Regions from separate parts of the Homo sapiens genome. Here all the other regions are linked to region 3. The links are contacts of gene promoters, found by promoter capture Hi-C in human tissues and cell types (Jung and others, 2019). All regions are on one chromosome and are shown on one strand. The core of a region is centred on a gene start or on the middle of the fragment in contact, and the rest is flanking DNA. Distances in the headings are between cores, read along the strand shown.

What was found. The method cuts DNA at HindIII sites, captures the fragments that hold promoters and counts their contacts. A contact is called where the count stands out against the background at its distance.
Region 1: a contact is called between a fragment that was not itself captured here and the fragment with the promoter of CASP10 in region 3, in 1 of the 25 tissues and cell types used here (H1 embryonic stem cells).
Region 2: a contact is called between a fragment that was not itself captured here and the fragment with the promoter of CASP10 in region 3, in 2 of the 25 tissues and cell types used here (heart left ventricle and lymphoblastoid cells).

What each region holds. Positions count from the first base shown.
Region 1 is chr2:200,853,733-200,858,024 of GRCh38, forward strand. CLK1 (CDC like kinase 1) reads right to left here. Exons shown (of 13, transcript NM_004071.4): 6 at 4,241-4,292; 7 at 3,986-4,152; 8 at 3,159-3,253; 9 at 2,950-3,079; 10 at 1,272-1,354; 11 at 884-963; 12 at 171-261. Among named protein-coding and RNA genes, the nearest start is that of CLK1, 8.8 kb to the right of the region's middle. The HindIII fragment of the contact is 5,508 bases long and covers 1-4,292 here.
Region 2 is chr2:200,922,130-200,926,335 of GRCh38, forward strand. ORC2 (origin recognition complex subunit 2) reads right to left here. Exons shown (of 18, transcript NM_006190.5): 13 at 3,707-3,803. Among named protein-coding and RNA genes, the nearest start is that of NIF3L1, 35 kb to the left of the region's middle. The HindIII fragment of the contact is 4,547 bases long and covers 1-4,206 here.
Region 3 is chr2:201,180,235-201,184,414 of GRCh38, forward strand. CASP10 (caspase 10) reads left to right here and starts at 2,907. Exons shown (of 10, transcript NM_032977.4): 1 at 2,907-3,074. The HindIII fragment of the contact is 16,206 bases long and covers 1-4,171 here.

The DNA.
Region 1 (4,292 bases), core at 1,004-3,503, 330 kb before region 3:
GCTACTTGGGAGGCTGAGACCTGCTTGAGCCTAGGATGCAGAGGTTGCAGTGAGCTGGGCCAACATCGTGCCACTCTACTCCAGCCTGGACAACGAAGCAAGGCTCGGTCTCAAAAGACAAACAGAAGAAACTCAGTTTTGACTATTTGAGCAATGTCTCAAAGGCTTACCTTCAGAGGTTTACAGCGTCTTGAAACATATCTGCCGGCAGAACTGTGTTCATCCCAGTCTAATCGATCGTGGTGAAAATATTTACGTTTCCTAAAAATAAGTCAATATCCATTCATGTTTATAACACTGAAAACTTAAAACAGCTAGCAAAGGTATCAATTACTATGCTTTCCCAGATCACTTTTCTAGAGATTTAAATGGCAGCCATGGGATAGAAATGTTACCTGCTTTGCACCAAGGTAATCTACTATTTAACTGAAAAAATATTAGTTTGACTTCATTATTTATAAAGTCCTAATCAGCGCCTGAGACTTGGTAGAGTGAAAATTTAAAAAAAAAAATTAAGTTCTGGCCAGGTGCGGTGGCTCACGCCTGTAATCTCAGCACTTTGGGAGGCCGAGGTGGGCGGATCACAAGGTCAGGAGATCGAGACCATCCTGGCTAACATGGTGAAACCTTGTCTCTACTAAAAATACAAAAAAATTAGGCGGGCGTGGTGGCGAGTGCCTGTAGTCCCAGCTACTCGGGAGGCTGAGACAGGAAAATGGCGTGAACCCAGGAGGGAGAGCTTGCATTGAGCCGAGGTCACGCCACTGCACTCCAGCCTGGGCAACAGAGCAAGACTCCATCTCAAAAAAAAAAAAAAAATTAAGTTCTAATCAGCAGATGTGATCAAATGATACTAAGGATGTCACTAACTCTTAAAACGTACCTGGTTTTCTGTATCATATGTTTTGGTAGAGGTCCAAGAATCCTTTCCATCATTGCTAAATGCTCCTTACTATCGTGTGTCTAGAAATAAAATAAAAACAGACTTGGGGAAGATGACCACCAAAACAGACACAGTTAAAGCTGACAGCAAAAAAACTAACATTAAGGCTTGCAGAACAAACTCGCCAATGATTCCCTACATGGACACGGATAATTGCTTATATACTGAAAGATGTTTTAAATAAAACAATTATGAAAGAAATATGAATTAGTTTATTTATGCTTATCTACAATTAATAGTCTATAATGGGGGAAGCAAAAGTATTTATTCATATAAACAGGCACCTTTCTTGTGCAAAGCAAGGTTGAAATAGATCATTGTCACTTACTGGAAATACGGTAAACCCAAGATAGTATTCAATAAGAATGCATCCTATGCTCCAGACATCACATGGTTGGGACCACCCTAGGGCTGCAAAGCAAAGCAAAATTTAAGGAAAAAAAATACTCAATGTTTGTTAAAGAAATTAAAAAGTTAGTTAACACTAATACTTTAAAAAAAAAAACACATGTAATGTAGGCTGGGCACAGTGGCTCACACCTGTAATCCCAGCACTTTGGGAGGCCAAGATGGGAGAACTGCTTGAGCTCAGGAGTTCAAGACCAGCCTGGGCAACACAGCGAGATCCCACCTCTATTAAGATATATATATATCTGAATTGGCCGGGCACAGTGGCTCACGCTACAGGCATAATCCCAGCCCTTTGGGAGGCTGAGGCAGGTGGAACACGAGGGCAGGAGATCAAGACCATCCTGACTACACGGTGAAACTCCGTCTCTACTAAAAATACAAAAACAAAATTAGCCAGGCATGGTGGCAGGCACCTGTAGTCCCAGCTACTCAGGAGGCTGAGGTGGGACAATGGAGTGAACCCCATAGGCGGAGCTTGCGGTGAGCCGAGATCGCGCCACTGCACTCTAGCCTGGGTGACAGAGCAAGACTCCGCCCCCCCCCCAAAAAATTATATATATACACATATATATGCAATGTGATGTTTGAGCTGGAAGATCCTAAAGCAATCACTTAATCCAAGGTTAAATACAATATATATGGCCGGGCGCAGTGGCTTATGCCTGTAATCCCAGCACTTTGCAAAGCCAAGGCAGGCAGATTGCTCCAGGTCAGCAGTTTGAGACCAGCCTGCCAACATGGTAAAAACCCCATCTCTACCAAAAATAAGAAAATTAACCGGGTGTGGTGGTGGGTGCCTATAATCCCAGCTACTCAGGAGGCTGAGGCAGGAGAATTGCTTGAACCCAGGAGGCAGAAGTTGCAGTGAGCCAAGATTGCACCACTGCACTCCAGCCTGGGCGACAGAGTAAGTCTCCGTCTAAAAAATAAATAAATGATAAAAATAAATAAATTATATAGTGTTATATATAGTCTGGAATAAAATAGGCATTAAACAATTTTCTGAGATGGAGTCTCGCTCTGTCGCCCAGGCCGGAGTGCAGTGGCGCAATCTTGGCTCACTGCAACCTCCGCCTCCCGGTGTTCAAGCAATTCTGCCTCAGCCTCCTGAGTAGCTGGAACTACTGACGTGTACCACCACACCCAGCTAATTTTTTGTATTTTTAGTAGAGATGGGGTTTCACCATATTAGCCAGGATGGTCTCGATTTCCTGACCATGTGGTCTGCCCGCCTTGGCCTCCCAAAGTGCTGGGATTACAGATGTGAGCCACCGCGCCCCACCCTTGGCCTCCCAAAGTGCTGAGATTACAGATGTGAGCCACCGCGCCCCACCTGGCATTAAACAATTACATTTAAAAACCCTACCACATATTACAAATGTGAAAACAATTCCAGAAAGGTTAAGCCACTTGCTCAAATTCCCAGAGCTAATTATCTGGTACAATTGAGAGCTTAAAATCCATAATGCACTTCATGATACTTATCCCTTAAAGAGAATATGATAAAGCCCCACAAGTAAGACCTAAAACTGCTAAAAAAATTTTAAGTCTCAATAAGGAAATACAAAGGTTCTCAAAGGACAATTAATACTCACCTAAAATAACTTCAGGTGCTCTATAATGTCTTGTAGATACCAATGTACTGTGATGTTCGTCATCATATGTTGCACTACCAAAGTCTACAACTTTAATATCTGGATTTATTAAGGTGCGTTCATCACGTTTCTGAAAATCATAAATGATGGTTAAGAAGGCATAAGCTATTAAGGCATAAGATACTTTATGAATATTTTGGAAGACTTACTATTTTGGGATTATACGCCTCTGTGTAGTCAGACTGCACAAATAAGATGTTTTCAGGCTTTAAGTCTGTGTGAGTCAACTTATTACTGTGCAAAACTGAGAATAAAGAGAAAGTTGCTGTAATCAGAAAACACCAAACCAAACCAAATCACAAAACCCCACAACAGGCCGGGTGCAGTGGCTCACGCCTGTAATCACCTGAGGTCAGGAGTTCGAGACCAGCCTGACCAATATGGTGAAACCCTGTCTCTACCAAAATTACAAAAATTGGCCGGGTGTGGTGGCGTGTGCCTGTAGTCCTAGCTACTCGGGAGGCTGAGGCAGGAGAATCACTTGAACTGGGGAGGCAGAGTTTGCAGTGAGTGAAGACTGCGCCACTGCACTTCAGCCTGAACAACAAAGCGAGACTCCATTTCAAAAAACAAAAAAACCCAACAAAAAACCTCTGATTCCTTTCCCAAAGAATGGTCAACATTCCAGTCTGCTAGAAAATCACCAGTAACTAAAACTTACTACCTCTTATGAAGCTTTCTTTTATGAGATATATCACGCCTTAATTTTTACCCAGCATTCGAAGTTACTATTTTTGCGCATCAGAAAAGTCTAAATCATAGTCTGCAACAAAGTACGTTGTTATATGGTGGATATCCTACTTGCTGAATGAAATGTACACTGCTGGATCAACAGCCTGTAATCAAATCTCTTCATACCTATTCTTCCTCCCCCTTTATTTTTAATCAAATAAAAATTGTACACACTTAGGATGCACATTTTGATATGTGGAATGGATAAAACCAGCAAATTAACGAAGATATACCAAGAACTTACAATTCACAGACTTGCATATCTGATATGCCATCTTTCTGATATGATCCAGTCGAAATGGTAGAAAACCATTTTCTTTAATGAAGTCGTAAGTACTAAGTCCCAATAGTTCAAAAACAATGCAAATGTGACCATGATGCTCAAACCATTCCAACATCTGGACACAGCGGCTACAAACACATGAAAAATAGCTAAGTATAGTTGCTCCTAATTTAAATATACCTGATACCACTTCCCAAGTTCTAATCTGATACTTACAAAGTACTGTTGGGGTCTGTTGTATTCAGATGTTCCAGAACTTGTATTTCTG
Region 2 (4,206 bases), core at 776-3,275, 260 kb before region 3:
GAGACCAAAAAAGGAGTGGGTGGGGGGTGGGGGTTAGGATACTGCTCAAGGCATCAGGAAGTTCAGATAAATTATAAAAGTCAGTGAAGGAGGAATTTAGAGGATGGAGCTGTTGACACTATCAAATACAGCAGAGATCAAGATAAAGGATGAGCCAAGGTCACTGGGCTTGGTAAGAAGAAAGTTACAGGTGATCAAGCATACAGTTCTGATAGCACAGAGGAAAGACATTAGAATGAAATAGGTAAAAAAAAAAAAAAAAAAAATTGAAGGCAGGACATGTCTTCCAAAATACTGAAACCGTATGAAACAGAAAAATAAAATAGTGTGAAAGGGCAGCAGAATCAGGTAACTTTTATTTTTAATGTATATTTAAAAGCCACAGGTATTGATAAGTCTCTCTGGAGACTTGGCATACGTGATAGAGTATAAGTCTTTCAGAGAGTGAGTTAATTTCTCTTCTACTCGGGGGTAGATGGGTAAGAGAGACAATACAGTGACAAAGATTCTGAGATGACACATTGTGAAAATCCCAGGTTCCCTGAAATCTAGACGTCATCATATTTAACAGTATCAAAACCAAAAACACCCAAAACCAAACGTATGTATACACACAGACGCACACAAATATAAAGTGACTTAGGCATCTATTTTAATGAGCATACGAACAATACTGGGCTCTTACAAGGATCTGTGGTAAGGGAATAAAAAGCAATGCTTCTGTTATTCTTTAAGTAGGAGAACTTATGTTGAAAACTAAAGACAATTCAGAAAAACAAGGCAAAATTATTATAGGAATAAATATTGCAGCAATTGATTTTTAATTAAATAATAAGGTTGAAAGAACTGAAAACAAACCAAACAGATTTGTTTCTCTTACAATAACCTGCTAGTAATTCACTATATGCCCACATAATCAATGAATAAGATATGTTCACATATGCAGTAGTTTTAGGGTTCTGGGAAATATATACTTGACTCTCATTACATTAAGTTCTATGCTGCTGCAAATCCTGAATTATTGAATACTGAACCACTGTTCCCAGAGGAAATACAGGGTTAGGTTCAATATATAACTTTGTTTTATGTGTGTTTCTGTTTAAAGGCAATTTTATTTTTATTTATTTACTCTTTTTGGAGACGGAGTCTCGCTCTGTTGCCCAGGCTGGAGTGCAGTGATGTGATCTTGGCTCACTGCAACCTCCAACTCCCAGGTTCAAGCGATTCTCCTGTCTCAGCCTCCCGACTAGCTGGGATTACAGGTGCGCACCACCAGGACCGGCTAGTTTTTTGTATTTTTTGTCGAGACAGGGTTTCACCATGTTGCCCAGGCTGGTCTCAAACTCCTAACCTCAAGTGATCCACCTGCCTCGGCCTCCCAAAGTGAAGGGATTGCAGGTGTGAGCCACCGCATCCGGCTTAAGGGCAACTTTATTTTTAATATACACTGTTGGTCTATTAACACGGAACTCACAGTCAAGAACACTGTAACTCATAACTGAAGGAAGTTTATATACACAGGTATTTTTTCCCCAAGGCACATCACAGCCTTCTTGTGCTTGGGAACACTAGATAGCATTTTAACACTATGCTTGCGGGCCATTTTAAACAGCCAAATCACCAACAAAAAAGCAGAAAAATGTGAAAAACGTAGCACTGAACAGACTGTGAAAACGATGCTTGTTTATAGTATGAGAGTTGAAACAAGAAGGCAAAGCATTGCCTTGTTTGACCTCGGCTTAGAATATGTACATTGGGCAATGCAAACTTTTTGCCACTCTGTGCCATGTTTCACTTTGCAAAAGTACCAAGAATATTGATTTTGGGATTATAAATAAATGTTAGCAAGCAGGTAAATTTGCTATTATAGAATTTGTGAATAATGAGAATCAACTCTACCTGTTTTCAAATGTGTAGAGTTGGTATAAAAATGTATATTGTCTGGCTGGGCTCATGCCTGTAATCCCAGCACTTTGGAAGGCCCAGGCAGGAGTATCCCTTGAGGCCTAGGAGTTTGAGACCAGCCTGGGCAACACAGTGAGACTCCATCTCTACAAAAAATTTTAACAATAGCCAGGCAGGTGATATGTGCCTGTAGTCCCAGCTAATGGGGAGGCTGAGTTGGGTGGATCACTTGGGCCCAGGAGATTTAGGATGTAGTGAGCTGTGTTTGTGCCACTGGACTCCAGCCTGGGTGAGAGAGCAAGACTGTGTTAAAAAAAAAAAGTATACGGTCCATTTCTATAAAGAACTGTGGATAAAATGGGTGTAGGAGTGTGAAAGGAAATTTGGGACAGAAAGCTTTTCAGGTTGGAAACAAAATGAAGACAAAACTAAAGAACATGCTAGAATATTGACAAGATAAAAGTACTACGGAACAGAGCTAAGATTATTGTCATTATCAAAAAAATTATCCATCAAAGCAGTTAGGCATTCTCAATTACTTCTCTTAATTCTTAATTTAGTCATTACTAAATGGCAATTAACTGTTAGAGACTATATAATACTATTTCCAATTTTCTGACATACTCACATAACCAAAACATTCACACCAAAAGAATCAAGAGATCTTAGTATATAAAATTATCTCAATGTAATGATATGTACACAGAATAAAGAAATAATGTTTTATTTATTTATTTATTTTTAGATAGAGTCTCACTCTATCACCCAGGGTGGAGTGCAGTGGTATGATCTTGGCTCACTGCAATCTCTGCCTCCCGGGCTCAAGCAATTCTCCTGCCTCACCCTCCCAAGTAGCTGGGACTACAGGCATGTGCCACCACGCCTGGCTAATTTTTTTGTATTTTTGTAGAGATGGGGTTTCACCATATTGGCCAGGCTGGTCTCGAACTCCTGACCTCAGGTGACCCACTGAGCTCGGCCTCCCAAAGTGCTGGGATTACAGGCGTCAGCCACTGCGCCCAGCCAAGAAATAATGTTTTATAAAAACATTAAACAATATAAAAATATCAGACAAACTTGTACCACTCAAGTGGAGGCACTTTACACAAGCAAAACAAAACCTGAAAATTATTCTGAAATAAATTCGCTGGGCTTGGTGGTGCACGCCTGTAATCCCAGCTACTTGAGAGGCTGAGGCAGGAGAATTGCTTGAACCCGGGAGGCGGAGGTTGCAGTGAGCCAAAATCGTGCCACTGCACTTTTGGAGTGTTTTATAAACAGAAACAGGCTTTTGGATATACAAACTTAAGAAAGTGGGACTAACATTTTTCTTTCCTGTTAAGTTCACGGAAAAAGTTCATAGAAAAAGGACAAACTTTTTTAGAGCACCAAGATAAATGCCATTATTAAAATAATCTTTTTGGGCCAGGTGTGGTGGCTCACACCTATAATCTCAGCCCTTTGGGAGGCCAAGGCAGGAGGACTGCTTGAGCCCAGAAGTTCAAGACTATCCTGGGCAACATAGCGAGACCTCATCTCTACAAATAATAAAAAATTAGCCAGGCATAATGGCACACGCCTGTGATCTGAGCTACCTGGGAGGCTGAAGTGGGAGAATTGCTTGAGCCCAGAAGGTCAAGGCTGCAGTGAGCCATGATCGCACCACTGCACTCCAGGCTGGGCAACAGAGAGACTGTCTCAAAAATAATAATAATAATATTGTATGTATATAAATACATGAATAAGTAGAAGTATATGCTTAACTTTACTCTAAAACTACCGAGCATCTACTTCATGTTACCTTCTTTAAATTTGTTTACTATCCAGTCTAGCTGATCCAGTATACTGCGGAAAGTACCCATATGATCGAGGACTTCTTCTGTTATAGAATTCAGGACCTATATCATGAATGTGGAAGAGGTACCACATTAATTACAATTTATTGTCATATACAACTAGAAAATCAAACCTTTTTTTATAAATTAAAAATGAATTTGGATTTCCCAAAAGTTTAAAAAATAACTTTTAAAAATTCTACTGGTACTTGAGTATATCTAATTCATTGTTTTTTGCCTAAGTTGTGGCTAAAAGAAAACAGAAAAGAATAGCAAAGATGTACAGGTAATAGGTAATATAAGAGGGCAGCAAAAACAAATGAAAAAGCTCCCAAGAACATGAGAAACATTAGAAAACTACAGTTCTATCAAAGGAAACAGGACACAAACACTACAGACACTTTAAAAAAGGAATACTATATGGCTCAATATCCAGCACCCAAAAGATTTCATGTTCAAATGATGA
Region 3 (4,180 bases), core at 1,657-4,156:
GTAGAAAATGCTGAGTACAAATATCTGCACTGCACGCCATCTCCCCTCTGTAACCTGATTCAAATGTTTCCCTGGAGCAGTAGGATAAAAGTTACAGTTTTACTTCCTGGGTCTTTATTCTACCTTTACCTTCCAGACCTAGATCAAATACTTCCTCCTCCAAGGAATGTCTGACTGATTGTCCCTTCTTAAAGCCCCTGTGGCACCAAAGTGAAGCCTCACTGTGGCATCACCACCCCCTGCCCGCAGTTACAGATGCTACACGATGTCATACTGAGATTCGGGCAATGGTAGCCCGGGGATCAAGAGCAAGGGGTTCGGAGTCAGAGAGACCCACGTTTGAGCCCTGAATTCTTGCTCATAGCTTTGGGATGGTGGCAAGATTCCTTGCCTCTCTGAATCTGGGTTTCCTCATCTATTGAATGTGGATAATAATGCCAGCTAAGGCTGGGAGTTGTTATGAGTTCATCAGAGAAGTTTAGAAATGGTAGTACCGGTCGCCATAGTTACTATGGAAAGCAGGTCACTTTGCTTTCCAATTGTGCCCAATTCAGGGCTTTGAATTGCCTGCTAAATATTTAATATTATTGAATCAAAGTTGAAAGAGTTAATATACTTTATGAACAGAGTGAGAGAAAGTGATAGTTTCAATAAGTTGCCTCCCTAAATGGCCCAATAAATTTAATATTTATAATAAAACAACTAAATAGAAGACCAAGACTTACGGCTTGTCTTTCTTCCTTTTTAAGTTATTTTCCAGAAAATAATATTTATATTTTAAGTTAAAGTAACTGCAAATTGGAAACCACAGGGGGAGCCCCAGGCTGGGACAAATAATGACTAGCCTGGTCCCAACAGAACAGGCAAAGAAGGTGGTCCCTACACTCTTTATGGTCAGTTGGGGCCCCCTCCTCACTCTGCTGCAGCATTCTAGGGTCAGGGCCCCACCTTCCCTGGAACTGGGGTAGTGAGTAACCCAGCCTGCTGTGCTCCGGCCCCCCTTTCCCAAGAAGGTTTTTTTTTTTTTTTTTTTTGAGAGAGTCTTTCTCTGTCGCCCAGGCTGGAGTGCAATGGCACGATTTTGGCTCACTGCAACCTCTGCCTCCCGGGTTCAAGCGATTCTCCAGCCTCAGCCTCCTAGTAGCTGGGATTACAGGCATGTGCCACCAAGCCTGGCGAATTTTATGTTTTTAGTTGAGATGTGGTTTCACCATGATGGCCAGGCTGGTCTTGAACTCCTGACCTCAAGCAATCTGCCCACCTCAGCCTCCCAAAGTGCTGGGATTACAGGTGTGAGCCACTGTGCCTGGCCAGGACTTGTCTTTTTCTTTTCTTTTTTTTTTTGAGAAGGAGTCTTGCTCTGTAGCCCAGGCTGGAGTGTGATGGCGTGATATCCGCTCACCGCAACCTCCACCTCCTGCCTTCAAGCGATTATCCTGCCTCAACCTCCCGAGCAGCTAGGATTACAGGTGTGTGCCACCACGCCCAGCTAATTTTTTGTATTTGTAGTAGAGACAGCGTTTCACCATCTTGGCCAAGCTGGTCTCGTGATCCGCCTGCCTCAGCCTCCCAAAGTGCTGGGATTACAGGCGGGAGCCACTGCACCTGGCCCCAGGACTTGTCTTTCTTAAGCACAGAAGTTCTCTGAATGATGCCTAGGACATGGAAAGGACATTTTAATACATTTGCTAATCAAAGCATCATAAATCTTGCTTTTTTTCCCCATAGATAAAACATCTTTCTAAGACTCTGTACCTCTTTCCAGAGTGCTGCACATTTGAGTTAGCTTAATTATAGTGTAGTGACTTTGATCCAAACTTGCTGGTTTAAATCTTGGCTCTTCCAGCCGCTCACTGTGTGACCTTGGGCAAATTAATTAACCTTTCTGTGCCTTAGTTTTCACATGTTAAAGCAGCAGTCATAGTAATAGTATTTATCTTACAGTGTTGTTGGGATGGTGAAATGAGTAAATATTTGTAAATGCCCTGGCACATGGTAGTTGCAATATTAGTGTGCAGTATTGTTTTTATGATTAGAAATAATGTCTTCAAAGTCTCACTTTCCTGCTGGTTTGAATGTGCTGTGAGAACACATACTGTCAGTTTTGCCTACCACAAATTTGTTGAGTCTCTTGCAGGTACCTCCAAATGGGCTTGTAATTCACCATCCCCACTTTTCTTTTTTTTTTCCTTTCTTTTTCTTTTTATTTCTTAATTTCTCCCACAAAGACTGAAAGTGAATCCCCACTTTTCTTTTATCTTTTAAAAATTTTATTTGTGGGCCGGGCACGGTGGCTCCATGCCTGTAATCCCAGCACTTTGGGAGGCCAAGGAGGGTGGATCACAAGCTCAGGAGTTCGAGACCAGCCTGGCCAACATGGTGAAACCTCGTCTCTACTAAAAATACAAAAAATTAGCCGGGCGTGGTGGCGCATGCTTGTAATCCCAGCTACTCGGGAGGTTGAGGCAGGAGAATCACTTGAACACAGGAGGCAGAGGTTGCGGTAAGTGGAGATCGCTCCATTGTTTATTTGCATGTGGACATAAGAAAGGGTTAACATGGCCGACAACTATTTCATGAGCTTTTTGGCTTTATTTGAAAAGTGAAGTGTGTTTGGGGAAGGAGTTGGTTAGGAAAACAGATGCTTCCCTTTTTGACTTACCAAGGAAATGGAGATCCAAAGGAAAGCCTGAAGCACTTTGTGGCTTCCACGGGTTCGTTTCTAGGAAGCTTTTGCTTTACCTGGGGAAACCCCAAGCTCTACAGTGAGAAAGTTGTAAATTAGCCTTTAGGAGACGCTGTTTGTCAAAGTTATCTTAACCCTGGAAAAGGGGAGGGAAAAAGGCAGATAAGCAGTGATGACATCAGCAGGAAACTAGTATCAGGCTACCCAGTCCTGAAGATTCAGTTTTCACTTAAACAACCAGCAAGTCTTGAAGTCTCTTCCCAAGCAAATGGGAGCTTCTTTGGACCTTGGAGCACACAGAGGATTCTACTTTCTTTAAAACTTTGTTTTCAGGCAATTTCCCTGAGAACCGTTTACTTCCAGAAGATTGGTGGAGCTTGATCTGAAGGTATGTAATTAACAACCCTTCTTACTCCAGAGTCTCATGCTTGAATCTTTTCCTTTGCTTCATGGCTTCGTGTTGTAGAAACTTGCAAAAACTTGTCAGCAATGGCACTATTTTTTCTTAGATTTCTTTGTCATGCCTGGGAAAACAAAAGTTAAAAAATCCGGAAGCCTCCAACATAGCCTTTTACCGGGGCAGAAATATGTTAGCTCACAGAGACAAAGTTTGGTAGACTCACTAAAACTAGAGATCAGAATTGTCAAGAAACCACAAGGCAAATGCTAGATGCGGTAGAATAGAAAGGTGTCTCCAATAAACCACTCATTTGACCTCAGGGCTAGTAGCAGGGAAGATCCCCTGGATTATCACATTAAAAATGACATTTTTTTGTTTCTTTTAACACCAAAAGTAATGTGTATGCTCACATATGCATAAAATTTGAGAAATTCAATTGGAAGCCCAGAAGGAAATTTGTATTATCTATAGTTATGTCACCTCGATATAACCACTGTTTGTTATGGAGGTTTTGATTTTTGCTGTGTCTTCCTTCCTTTATTTATTTATTTATTTATTTATTTATTTATCTATTTATTTATTTGAGACGGAGTCTCCCTCTTTCACCCTCCAGCACTCAAGCTGGAGTGCAGTGGCACAATCTTGGCTTACTGCAACTTCCGCCTCCCAGGTTCAAGCAATCCTCCCATCTCAGCTTCCTATGAAGCTGGGACCACAGGCATACACCACCAAGCCCAGCTAATTTTTGTATTTTTTGTAGAGACGGGGTTTCACCGTGTTGCCCAGGCTTGTCCCGAATTCCTGGCCTCACAGTGATCCACCTGCCTCAGTCTCCTGAAGTGCTTCTCTGATTATAATGAAATTTAGTATGTAGAATACCATAGTTTATAGACTAGTCAGATGGAAACATTGACTCATGTAATTTTTATCTTCCTTCGCTGATTTGAGCAACTCTTGTCTAAAATCACCCTTTCCTTCTGAGGTCTAGGAGGTTTTTTTGTTGTTGTTTTGTTTTGTTTTTGAGGCAGGGTCTTGCTCTGTCACCCAGGGTGGAGTGCAGTGGCACAATCATGGCTCACTGGAACCTCCATCCC